2 separate regions of the Homo sapiens genome follow, and region 1 is linked to region 2. Evidence: promoter capture Hi-C in human tissues and cell types (Jung and others, 2019). All regions are on one chromosome and are shown on one strand. Each heading gives the region's core, a stretch centred on a gene start or on the middle of the fragment in contact. The rest is flanking DNA. Distances are from core to core; before and after follow the strand shown.

What was found. Contacts are between HindIII fragments. The study calls those that stand out against the background at their distance.
Region 1: a contact is called between a fragment that was not itself captured here and the fragment with the promoter of PKNOX1 in region 2, in 1 of the 25 tissues and cell types used here (spleen).

Annotation. Positions count from the first base shown.
Region 1 is chr21:44,050,346-44,056,342 of GRCh38, forward strand. TRAPPC10 (trafficking protein particle complex subunit 10) reads left to right here. Exons shown (of 23, transcript NM_003274.5): 4 at 1,935-2,131; 5 at 5,353-5,548. Among named protein-coding and RNA genes, the nearest start is that of TRAPPC10, 41 kb to the left of the region's middle. The HindIII fragment of the contact is 8,976 bases long and covers 1-5,738 here.
Region 2 is chr21:42,972,050-42,978,950 of GRCh38, forward strand. It overlaps PKNOX1 (PBX/knotted 1 homeobox 1), which reads left to right and starts at 2,513. Exons shown (of 11, transcript NM_004571.5): 1 at 2,513-2,615. RefSeq lists enhancers at 1-189, 3,312-4,038 and silencers at 1,701-1,860, 2,171-2,560, 2,691-3,010, 3,151-3,350. The HindIII fragment of the contact is 23,812 bases long and covers 1-6,901 here.

The sequences.
Region 1 (5,997 bases), core at 1-2,500, 1.1 Mb after region 2:
ATGTGGCAGCCCCTGCCCGGTGTGGACAACTTGGAGCCAGGACTCCTTCTGGGGTGGGGGTGGGGAGGAGTCCAGCTAAAGGGCTCTTGGTGGCCTTGTAAGAGGTGGAGAGGCTTCCAGCAGCTCCTTGGATGGCTCACCTGTGACGTGTGGATGGGGTCAGCCGGGTGCTATGTGTATTTTCTTGGCAGTCACAGGCTCTGGGCCCTGTTGGCCTTTTGGTTTTGCTTCCAGGCATGGCGTGTTGGGGCTTCCAGCACAGAATGGTTCACCAGTGCTGTAAAATCTATGCTTCAAGTCCCAAGAACTGCCGTGCTGTGGAAAATGTGCACTAGATAATTAAGTTACTGTTGGGTATTTATTTGCAGGAAATTGAGTTTACCAGTTGGTTTTAATCTCAGTTTTCAAAGTAAAAGATCTTTTCAGATTGTATGATATTTGTAATTTAAATCAGGACATAGCAGTTTTTAAAATCAGGATACAAATGAGAAGTACTGCCTTTTGGAACTTTCTATTTAGTTAGTTAAACCAAAAGAGAGGCTGGGTACAGAATTTAGGATTTAATATTTTTTTTTTGGAGACGCAGTCTCGCTCTGTCGCCCAGGCTGGAGTGCAGTGGTGCGATCTTGACTCACTACAACCTCCGCCTCCCAGTTCAAGCAATTCCCCTGCCTCAGCCTCCTGAGTAGCTGGGACTACAGGTGCACACCGCCATGCCCGGCTAATCTTTCCATTTTTAGTAGAGATGGGGTTTCACCATGTTGCCCAAGCTGGTCTTGAACTCCTGAGCTCAGGCAATCCACCCACCTTAGCCTCCCAAAGTGCTAGGATTACAGGTGTGAGCCACTGTGCCTGGCCAGGATTTAAGATTTAACTCACTCGTGGATACTCTGATTGGCTTCTCTCTGCCTGAGTGTTACTCAAGAGTGACTTGAAAGTCCGGAGGAATTAGGGCAGGACAGTGAGGAACTAGCAAAAGAGGAGAAAGCACTGATTTAGATGGTAGCTGTGAGTTACTGTGTCCAGATATTGTCAGTGCCTAACTTGGAAATGAATTAAGTATCTTGGTTTTAGATTTTCTAAATCTAAAGGGAGTTGGACTCTTCTGAGTGGATTTATGGAATAGAAGCGCAGTTATAAGTGATAACAGGCAAAGTGTCTGTTTTCCTGGTTCTTTATGGAAGAGAACCAAGCTGAAGGCCTTGGCATGTATGTAGAAAGGGCCCTTTCTCTGGCAGGCTCATGCTTGGGCCTCTGCGTGAGAAGCAGGATTGATTTCTGGGATGGCACGGCTCCCTGCTGCCTGTCGGGAAGTAGAGCAGCCTTGCGGAAGCTGCAGGTCGCCTTCTTTCTGAGGTCTCACAGCTGTAGCTGCTTGCCTCTGACACGGCCTTCGCAGACTTGCGGTTGGGGTGGTTCCCAGGGGTACAGAGCTCAGAGGCTGTGGTAGAAGCTGCCGGGAAGCTTGCCTGGGGTTCCTGTGGGCAGTCTGGGCTGTGCCATGACAGCCAGCTTGCCTCCTGAGATGAAGGCACGGCACACAGCAGGATGGCAGTCATGTAGTGCTTGGGCCCAGAGCTGTTGGCCATAGTGGGCCTGGGTTTTAAAGCCCTGACTTGCCTAACAGACAGTATTGCTGTGGGCAGCTCACTCAACCCTCTGACTCTCAGTCTCTTTATCTGGATCACTGGGACGCTCACATCCCTTGGGGTTGTGAGAACTGGGGATCATGCATGCCTGTGTGCGGCACTGAGACCCACAGAGCACGCCCGCAGGCTTGCTAGGCCGCTGGGCTTTTTATTCAATTTAAGTCCCGAGCCTGTCCTGATGCTTTAAAACATTGCGGCCTTTGCAGGCTGTTATTAGGCACATTTTGCTGTATAAACTAAAGGGCATTAGTTAACCTGCTTTCACAGTGACTTGTTTGTTTTTAGGATACCGAAGTGTATAAAGCTACAGTAAAAGATGACCTCACCAAGTGGCAGAATGTTCTGAAGGCTCATAGCTCTGTGGACTGGTTAATAGTGATAGTTGAAAATGATGCCAAGAAAAAAAACAAAACCAACATCCTTCCCCGAACCTCTATTGTGGACAAAATAAGAAATGATTTTTGTAATAAACAGAGTGACAGGTAAGTGTATCTTTAATTTTACCTCATTTGGTTAATACTTGACATGATACAGATTGCTGGCTTCCTGGGTAGTAATAAATATTTACTCAGCAATCTCGAGTGAGTGTCCATGGGGTGCTGTCAAGGAGACCTGGTGCCTGTCCTTGTGGAGTTCCTGTTTAGGCAGGCAAAGAACTCGAAGCAGTCATCCCCCGAGTGTGCTGCCTGGGAGGAGCGGGTCTTGGGCCCATAGTCCTGGGAGGCCTCTTGGTGGGTCCTTTCTGAAGACTGACAGCAGCAGCTCCTGCAGTTCTTCTGTAGAACGGGTCCTTAAAGGTTTTTGTTTTTTTTTTGAAATGACGGCACCTGTGTTTTTTTCTTTACCTTAACACCTGAGAGTTCCTAAGAACACAAGTTATAAAATGCTGACCTAACCCCTTCAGAAACTGTGAAAGGGAATCCTGAAACTTTGGCAGTTAATAGATTGTATGGGCTTTCTCCGCCTTGCCCTGCTCTCTCTCCTGGGGTAGCTCACTCCCTTTCTCTTCAGTGATGCCATTGCCAGCTGAGCCAGCCAGCACGTTAACTCCTCTATAACCGATGGTCTGTATCTCGTAGCTTAGCACTGGAACTCACCCAAGGCCTGGGGATTCAGGGGCGAACATGGACCCTGCCCTGGTCCAGCAGGTCATTATAGCCATGGTCACCATGCTTATGGTGGCGAGGGTTCAGATGGAGGTACATGCTCATTGTAGAATTATTAGAAAAAGGTAATGAGCAAAAAGAAAATGGATATTAACTCTTAGTATTTTGGTATGTATGTTCTGAGACTTTTTTTCTTTATGCATACATAATACGTGTGTGTATTTTAAGTTAATATAACGTTATGTGTTGTTTATACTTGTTTTTTTCACTCAATATATTGTAAAGATTTTCCACAAACAATAAATGCATTTCCAGACTCTCAGTGTTAGTGAGTGGATAATATTCCATAGTATTAATGTGCCGTAAGTTATTTATACATTCTGCTGCTGGGCTTAGGTTATTGCTTACTTATCGTTATAAACAACAATATTAGAATACTTTTCTAGCTCAAATGTTGTGAGCATCCTTAATTATTTCAGGATACCTTCCCTAAAGGAAAATTGCTTGGTAACAGATTTTGTGCATTTTTTGGGCTTTTGCTAGTTACGAGGCTGGTAGAGGCAAGGGTTGACTTGTGATCAGCAGTGTGACTTGTGACAGCAGTAGCCGTTGTGGTGTCTCGCTGAGGCTGCAGCCGGGAGCCCCTTGTTCCACATGTGCCTCCAGCCCCTGCAGTCTGCGCGCCTGGGGGGATCACGCCGCTCTCCAGATTGGCCCACCATCCCTGACTTCATTCGTTGTTTTGGGCTCTCCTTTTCTGAGTTAATGATTTAGGCTTGATGTGAACTTCTGAAGTGTAGTTCTTTTTTACTTAAAAAAAATTGATGATGATATAGAAACAGGATCTAATAGAGATAGGACATTTCATGACTGTGTATCTGATTGACCTCTGAAAACAGTTACTGTTTTGGTGGTTGGCACTTGTTAAGTTTCCATTTCCATTCACCCCTGTAGGCGCACAGGAGAATTCGCGTCTGGTCGGGAATAAATGTTGGTAATTATAATCCTTGAGAATGCCTTAAGGATAAACTACCTAACTCATAGGTTCTAGCAAGCTCCTACTGTGGATAAATACAAGTTAGTCCTCTGGGGGACCTTTGGAGTGAGCGGCTCTGGTCCCTTTGTCTTTGAGGGAAGAAAGTGTGCAGTGGGGTGGATTGAATGGAATTAAAGCCAGCCACCAAGTTATAAGTTTTCTTCTTGGTTCTGGTTGTTCACATGGTGGAACATGTAGAGTGTATGCTGCTTCACTGTTTTGTCCACTGATTTATAATTCCATGAATTTAGCCATGCCTCCAAAGGATATGCTGGGGCACGGAAAAAAGGAACTTAGAGTCAGTTCATTTTGCTACTTTTTGGTAATTCAAGTAAAATATTTACTAAGGAGAACTGGTGAAGCTCATAGAATCAATGTTTTAAAATTATTTCTGAGTTCAGATTTATTAATCATCTTTCTAGATTACTATTACCAAGGCTAAAGAAATTTACCATTTCCAGCCTATCAGATAAATACGTTGCCTTGTCCAAATCTGTTGGGAACTTTGTGTAATTTCGTGTGTTTGACCTTTTTACATCATGGGTTCAGCCTCTTTGTAATTAAACTGTTTGCTCTATATGTTAAGCCATGTTCTAAGCCTTTATTTGTTAATTGTTTATTAACCTTCCCCTTCAAGAGCTCACAGGCTAGTGGGAGGGATAGAGGTCCAGAGAAGGGGAGTGTTTTCCTGTGAGGCCCACAGCCTAGCAGCAGTGTGGGCAGAGCAGTTGGGATGGTGATTGGGGGAGGTTTGTGAAGATGCCACGCCTGGGTGGAAGGAATGTTCTCATGAAGAGAGGAGAGCGGGAGAAGGTCAGCAGGCTTGAGCTGGGAAGCAGAGGAAGTAAAGTGAGACATCGTGGTCCTTTTGTGCTGTGCTGAGAAATCTAAATTTATCCTGTCGATCCCAAGGAACCAAAATGGATTTTGAAGGAGGCAGGGAACTGAGTGAGGCGTGATCACATTATTTTACAGAGGACTCAGAGCTGCGTCTTTGGCTCAGGGCTCATGTAAATCCCTTTCCCCCTTTCCAGTTGATTCTATAGCAAACTCTCCTTTGAATTTCTGTAGAACTTACTGCTCGTGTTCATGACCAGTTCATGATGAAGCCTTTTCCTAACCTGGTTTCTTACCGCCTGCCTCATGTTTTTGACTGTTTATAGACGGAAGAAGCTAGATGCGGTGGCTTATGCCTATAATCCCAGCACTTTGAGAGGCCGAGGCAGGAGGATTGTTTGAGCCCAGGAGTTCGAGACCAGCCTGGGCAACATAGCAAGACCTCACCTTTACAAAAAAATACAAAAATTAACCAGGCATGGTGGTGCGTGCCTGTGATCCCAGCTACTGGGGAGGATCACTGGAGCCTGGGAGGTGGAGGTTGCAGTGAGCCAAGATTGTGCCACTGCACTCCAGCCTGGGCCACAGAGCAAAACTCTGTCTCAAAAAAAAAAAAAAAAGGAGGAGGAAGGAAGAAAATTGCCGCTCAGGACAATGGCAGCTGCTGAGTCGTGGTGCTGTGCATGGAGGGTCTTTCCCAGATAGTCTGTTCATGTCTTTGCAGGTGTGTTGTGCTCTCCGACCCCTTGAAGGACTCTTCTCGAACTCAGGAATCCTGGAATGCCTTCCTGACCAAACTCAGGACATTGCTTCTTATGTCTTTTACCAAAAACCTAGGCAAGTTTGAGGATGACATGAGAACCTTGAGGGAGAAGAGGACTGAGCCAGGCTGGAGCTTTTGTGAATATTTCATGGTTCAGGTACTTGACTCATTACAGAACTAGACAGTTCCTTCTCTCCTTCCCTCCTTTGTTCCCTCCCTCTCTCCTCCTTTCTTTCTAAGTAAGGCACCTCTCGTGGTAATCTCATTGGCAGAGTTTTTAAAAACAAAAAACCTGGAATATCTTTAGGACTAGAAAGGAAGTGTATGGAAGCAGATGGGGCATGAAAAGGACACACACACTGCCCCGGGGAGCCTCTGGGGGCAAAAGCTGGAGCAGTTTCAGTGACAGAATAAATAAGGATAGAGTCGAGGTTTAACCCATGGAATAAAATTAATATCCATGAGTCTGTATCGATAGAAATCATCAGTTAAATAAATAAATGGAGGAGAAGGGTCAACTCTTCCATACAGAAGAATTCCACTTAAACGCAGAAGGAAAGAAAAACAGAAAATCACTTTTAAGCCAGTGCTCCAGCAAGAACTGTT
Region 2 (6,901 bases), core at 1,263-3,762:
AGCTTCAGACCGGGGGCAGGTGTAGGTGTGGCCAGTGAGCCCCGGGCTGCTTCCAGGGGCCTGAACAGCATGTCACAGGGCCCCTGCCCCTGCTGAGAAGGGCCCAGGCTTGGGGTAAGGTTCTGCTGTCACTGCCTTGAAATTCTTCACTGTAATTTCTGAGCCAGGGACTTTGTCTTACTGGAATGGGGTCTCAATCCAGATCCCAAGAGAGGGTTCTTGGAGTTTACACAAGAAAGAATTCAGGGAGAATCCACAGAGTAAAGTGAAAGTGAGTTTGTTAGAGAAGTAAATAAACCAAAGAATGGCTACTCCATAGGCAGAGCAGCCCCAAGGGCTGCTGGTTGGCTATTTTTATGGTCCTTTTTTTTTTCCCTAGAATCCGTTCCTGAATTATATTGGTTATTTCTTGATCACGTGCTAAACAAGGGGTGGATTATTCATGAGTTTTCTGGGAAAGTGGTGGGGAATTCCCAGAACTTAGGCTTCCTCTTCCATTTATTTATTTATTTATTGGAGATGGAGTCTTGCTCGTTGCCCAGGCTGGAGTGCAATGGCGTGATCTCGGCTCACTGCAACCTTTGCTTCCCAGGTTCAAGCGATTCTCCTGCCTCAGCCTCCCAAGTAGCTGGGACTACAGGTGTATGCCACCACGCCTGCTTAATTTTTTGGTATTTTTAGTAGAGATGGGGTTTCACCATATTGGCCATGCTGGTCTCAACTCCTGACCTCAAGTAATCTGCCCGCCTTGGCCTCCCCAAAGTGCTGGGATTACTGGCGTGAGCCACTGCGCCCGACCCCTTTTAGGCAATGTAGGGTATCTTCCAAACGTTGCCATGGCATTTGAAAACTGTCATGGCGCTGGCGAGAGTGTGTTTTACCAAGCTCATATATTATAATTAGTGTATAATCAGCAGTGAGGAAGGCCACAGGTCACTTTCCCCGCCATCTTGGTTTTGGTGGGATTTGGCCGGCTTCTTTACTGCATCCTGTTTTATCAGCAGGATCCTTGTGACCTGTGTCTTGTTCCGACCTCCTATCTCATCCGATTACTAAGAACGCCTTAACTCCTGGGGGGTGCGGCCCAGCAGGTCTCAGCTTCAGTTTACCCAGCCCATGTGGAGTCTCTCTGTTCCAACACCTATTGACACTTGCATCTGGATCTTGCACTAGGCTCTGCAGATTATGCTCAGTCTTGAATACTGAGCTTTTTTTGTCCCCTTGAACTTCCCTCCTTGGGCAAGTATCTCAGGGCCTCCCTCTTGCCCACCCTGCTGCTTCCCATCTTTCTGAAAGAGGCGGCTCTGCAGCTGCACAGCACTTGGCCAAGACCTCCTGGCGGTGTGGAGCTCTGAAGACACAGGAGGGATGTCCTCCGAGCTGTTCATGCCTAGACCTACCCCCAGGCTCCCTCTAGCAATCAGCTCCAGTCCTGGGCCTGTCTGCCTTCCGGGAGGAGTGGGGGCCCACAGAGCTGCCCTTCCCGCGCTGTGTATGGACTCAAGGCACTGATGGCCTTCGGTGGGCCACTGCATAAATGGATGTTTCTGCAGTATTGAAGGCCAGTCAGGCAAACCGTGTGCTTTCCTACGCAGTGGGGAATGTGTCGCCCTTTCCTTACATCTTGGAGACCAAAGCCACCATCTGCACTTGTGGGTACATTGTGGCAGTGGTCGGTTAGGGTGGTCTTTCAAAGCAGTTTGAAATGCAGACACTTGTGGGCGTCCCCTAAGGCAGGTGCCCTTTACCTGGAGGCCGCATTGGTCACCTAGACCCGCAAGGCTCACCTGGGCCGGAAGGTGTGGTCAAGCGAGGCCAAGTAGCCCAGAGGCCACCCCTAAGCACCTGTGGACATCATGAGTCCTTGCTGGGGTCCTCACAGAGGGAAGACAGCCCCCAGGGTAAAGCCTCAGGTGCTAAGCACTCGCGCTGCCGCAGGGGGGGAGGCACGTGAGCATCCACTGTGCCGCCCAGGACGGGCCCACCCGGGCTCCAGAGCCTGGGGAGGAAGGCTGCGAGGCTCCCACGGGCTTACATTCAAACCGGGCACACACAGAACGGAGGCCTTCGGCTACGGGACGCCCGGCGGTGGGGTTACGGATGGTACAGCCCTCCCTCCCCGCCTGCTCGAGGCAAATGGTTTCGCCCGGCTACACACACCTCTCCTGGGCGGCAACCGAGGGCGCGGAGGGGGCAAGACGTGCGCTGAGGCCACGCCCCTACTGCATAGTCATAAGGCGGGAGGCTCTGCCTTCGGGGCGGGGCAGACAGCTCCTCGCGCTCGGGCGCGGCCGGTTGGGGGCACGGCCTAGCTCCGGGTGCGGGCGGGGCTGGAGGCGGGGCCGGCCACCGCCCGGTTCCCGCCCTCGCTCTCCTCCCCCAGCGATCAGGCCCCGCCCCGCGCCCGCCGCCGCGCAGGGAGGGGCGGGGCCCGTCTCCGGCAGGCCCCGCCCCCTCTCTGAATATTGATGCGGCGCGCGTCGGCGTCGCCCTCCTCCCATTGAGCGAGGCTGTGTCGCGTGGCCCAGCGTCGGCGTGACGGTTGGACGCGGGCGCGGCACTGCGGGTCCCGATTGCTGCAGCCGCTTGTCAGTGTGATGAAGATTGGCACCCAGGTAAGCTGTCACTCAACCGCTCCGCCGCCGCCGCCGCCGCTCTCGCCGCCGCCGTCCCTATCAATCACACCGGCCCGCGGCCGCCGCCCGCCGCCGCCGCTGCCGCCCGGGTCTGGAGGGCCGGCGCTGCCCTCGAGGGCCCGCATTTGACCCGCCGCCCGGGGCAGGGGGCGGGGAGGGGGCGCGGGTGGGGGAGGGGAGCGGGCACCCGCGGGGGAGGGGGCGCCTTCAGCCCAACCGGCGCGGGGGCGCGCCCAGTTGGTTTCTTAGTGTGGGTTGAGGGACGCGGAAATTTCTGGAAGGCGCCGCCGCCGCCGCGCTGGGCCTGATCGAAGCGCGCGCTCCTAACCGTCCCTTTCGGAGTGCGGCGCGCGCCCCGGCGCGGGGCGGGGGCGCGCGGAGCCCGGCGCGGGCGGGGCGGCGGGCGTGAGGGTCGGGGGCGCGCGGCGGGGCGGGGCCGGGGCGGGCGGCGCGCGTGGGGCCGGTCGGGTCCGCGGCCTCGCGGAGTCCTCAGGGCCGGCGGGGCTGCTCGGAGGGTGCGGGGCGCGCGGCGGCGCAGGCGGGAAGATGGCGGCCGCGACCCCGGCCCCGGCCTCGGCCGTGGCGAGCGGGTGGGTCGGGGTCCTGGGGGCGGTGGGCGTGATGGGGCTCGTGGCCCTCAGCCGGGCGCCGGCGCGGGAGCAGCCCAGGGCCGCTCGCTGACGGCAGTGTTTGGGGCCGGGTGCTGGGGAAGCGGTTCCGGCGTCCCGGGAATTGGTGGGAAGAGCCGCTTCTGTCACACGGGTCGTGGTAATGGATGACAGGAAGTGCCGGGCAGGGTCTGGGCGCCCTGTGGGTTTGCACCTTCCTTGTGAGGGAAATCGTGTCACTTAACGAAAAATGAAGAAACGCGGAGTCTGCTTTATGTCATCCTCGTGGCTCTCGAAATGCCTTATTTGGACAGTGGCTCTGCGACGGGACCAGTTAGGGCCTCCGTTCCGATGGCGGATTCCTGACGGGAGGCCCGAGGGTCCGGGAATGGCGGCGTCCTGAGGTCGGGCCCAGGGCAGGCCAGGCTGAGCGCCACGGCGGGGCCGCAGCCCTGGGGGGTGTTCCACCTGTGTGTGGGGTTCTCTTCCAACTCTACGAGAGTTTGCTTTTTAAAACAGTAGATGATTTTTCCTTAGGAAGTGGTTCCTCTTCAGGATGAAAGAAACCCCCAGCTTTAGTTAGGTCTACTTTCATGATTTTTCCTGGCATACTGAAAAATAGGCTTTCTCTAAACATAAGGAAGAATCGAGGTGAAATGTGAACCTCTGCCAGTATAGTTATTGGTGATGCTCTTGCATTTAGTCATAATTTGGAAGATGGCAGGCTGACCCCAATGAGCCTTTCATCACTCTGCTTAATTTACTTAGAGTGATTTGTGAATCCTGTCCTTGTACACAGGCGTACCTCAGATAATTCGAGTTCTAATCCAGACCACCGCAGTAAAATAAGTATTGCAGTAAAGCAAGTGACGCAACAGTTTTAGGTTTTTCAGTGCATATGAAAGTTGTAATTACAGTATACTACTTAAAGTGTGCAATAGCAAGCATTATATCTATAAAAATGTGCTTACGTTAATTAAAAAATATTTTAGTGCTAAAAATACTAATGATCATCTGAGCCTTTAGTGAGTCCTGCTTGTTTTATACTTTGACAATCTGGCCTCAGTGTGGATGGCTGCTGACTGATCAGGGTGGTGGTGGCTGTGTCAGTTACTTAAAATAAGACAACAGTGAAATTTACTGCATTGATGGACTCCTCCTTTCATGAAAGACTTCTTTGTAGCATGTGATGCTGTTTTGATAGCATTTTAACCACAGTGAAAATTCTTTCAAAGTTGGAGGCTATTCTCAAACTCTGCCACTGCTATCCACTAAGTTGATGTGATATTCCAAATGTTTTGTTGTCATTTCCACAATGTGCACAGCGTCTTCACTAGGAATAAATTCCATTTCAAGAAACCACTTTCTTTGCTCATCCGTAAGAAGCAACTGTTCATTATTTCCACCACATCTGCAGTTCCTTCCTCCACTGAAGTCTTGAACTCCTCCAAGTCATCATAAGGGTTAGAATCAACTTCTTCCAAACTCCTGTTAATGTTATTTGACTTCCTTCCATGAATCATGAATGGCATCTAGAATGGCAGATTCTTTCCAGAAGGTTTTCAGTTTACTTTGCCCAGATTCATGCGAGGAATCACTACCACAGCTATAGCCTTACAAAATGTATTTCTTAAATAATTAAGACTTGAAAGTCAAGATTACTCCTTGGATCCATAGCTGCAGAATGGATGTGGTGTTAGCAGACATGAAGACAGCATTCATCTCCTTGTGTACATCTCCATCAGAGCCCTTGGGTGACTAGGTACATTGTCAGTGAACGGTAATATTTTGAAAGAAATCTTTTTCTGAGCAGTGGATCTCAACAGTGGGTTTAAAATATTCAGTAATGTGTTATTCCATTTCCAGAGCACAGGCAAGAGTAGACGTAACATAATTCTTCAGAACCCTAGGATTTTCAGAATGGTCAAAGACCACTGGCTTCAGCTTAAAGTCACCAGTGACATTTGCCCCTAACAAGAGAGCCAGCTTGCCCTTTGAAACTAAGCACTGAGTTCTCTCTAGGTATGAAAGTCCTAGATGTCATCTCCTTCCAAAGGAAGTCTTTTGTCTATATTGAAAATCTGCTTTTTCGTCTCGCTGCCTTCATCAATGATCTTAGCTAGACCTGGATAACCTGGTGTTGCTTTTCTGTTAGGTAGCACTTGCTGCTTCACCTTGTACTTTCGTGTTATGGGGACAGCTTCTTTCCTTAAACCTCATGAACCAGCCTCTGCTGCTTCCAACTTTTTTTTTTTTTTTTTTTTTTTTTTTGAGATGGATTTTCACTCTTGTTGCCCAAGCTGGAGAGCAATGGCGTGATCTCGGCTCACTGCAACCTCCACCTCCCGGGTTCAAGCGATTCTCCTGCCTCAGCCTCCGTAGTAGCTGGGAGTACAGGCAGCTGCCACCACATACAGCTAATTTTTTGTATTTTTAGTAGAGACGGGCTCTACTAAATGTTAGCTAGGCTGGGACTTCTGACCTCAGGTGATCCACCTGCCTCAGCCTCTCAAAGTGCTGGGATTACAGGGGTGAGCTGCCGTGCCTGGCTCCAACTTTTCTTCTGCATCTTCCTCACCTCTCTCAGCCTTCATAGAATTGAAGAAAACTTGGGCCTGGTTCTCGATTAGGCTTCAGTTTAAGGGAATGTTGTGGCTGGTTTGATCTAATCAGACCACTCATACTTTCCACATATCACCAATAAGGCTGTTTCACTTTCTTTCCCTCCCTCCCTCTTTTTTTGAGACTATTGCCCAGGTTGGAGTGCAGTGGTATGATCATGGCTCACTGCAACCTCTGCCTCCTGGGTGCAAGCAATTCTCTTGCCTCAACCTCCCGAGTAGCTGGGATAACAGGTGTGCAGCATGTGTCCAGCTAATTTTTGTATTATTAGTAGAGGTAAGGTTTCACCATGTTGACCAGGCTGGTCTCGAACTCCTGACCTCAAGTGATCCGCCCGCCTTGGCCTCCCAAAGTGTTGGGATTACAGGTGTGAGCCAACGGACCTGGCCATTTTCTTATTCATGTGTTCACTGGAGTAGCACTTTTTAATTGCCTTTAAGTTTTCCTTTGTTCTGAGAGGTGATTTAAAATTTCAAAAATTTGTGTATGTATTTTTTTAATTTCAAAAATTGGAAAGAAACTTCTGCTTTGCATTTACAACTTGGCTAACTTGTTTTTTTCTTTTCTTTTCTTTTTTTTTTTTTTTTTGAGATGGAGTCGCTCTGTCGCCCAGGCTAGAGTGCAGTGGCGCGATCTTGGCTCACTGCAACCTCTGCCTCCCGGGTTCAAGTGATTCTCTTGCCTCAGCCTACCAAGTAGTTGGGACTACAGACGTGAGCCACCACGCCCGGCTAATTTTTGTATTTTTAGTAGAGACAGGGTTTCGCCGTATTGGCCAGGCTGGTCTTGAACTCCTGACCTCAAATAATCCACCCACCTTGGCCTCCCAGAGTACTGGGATTACAGGCATGAGCCACCGCACCCAGCCCTTTTTTGTTTTTTTTTAAAGAGATGAAGTCTCCCTATGTTATCCAGGCAGGTCTCAAACTCCTGGCCTCAAGTGGTCCTCCTGCCTCAGCCTCAGGCATGATCCACTGTTCCTGGCCTTGGCTATGTTTTTGAGAGACAGGGTCTCATTCTGTTGCTCAGGTTGGG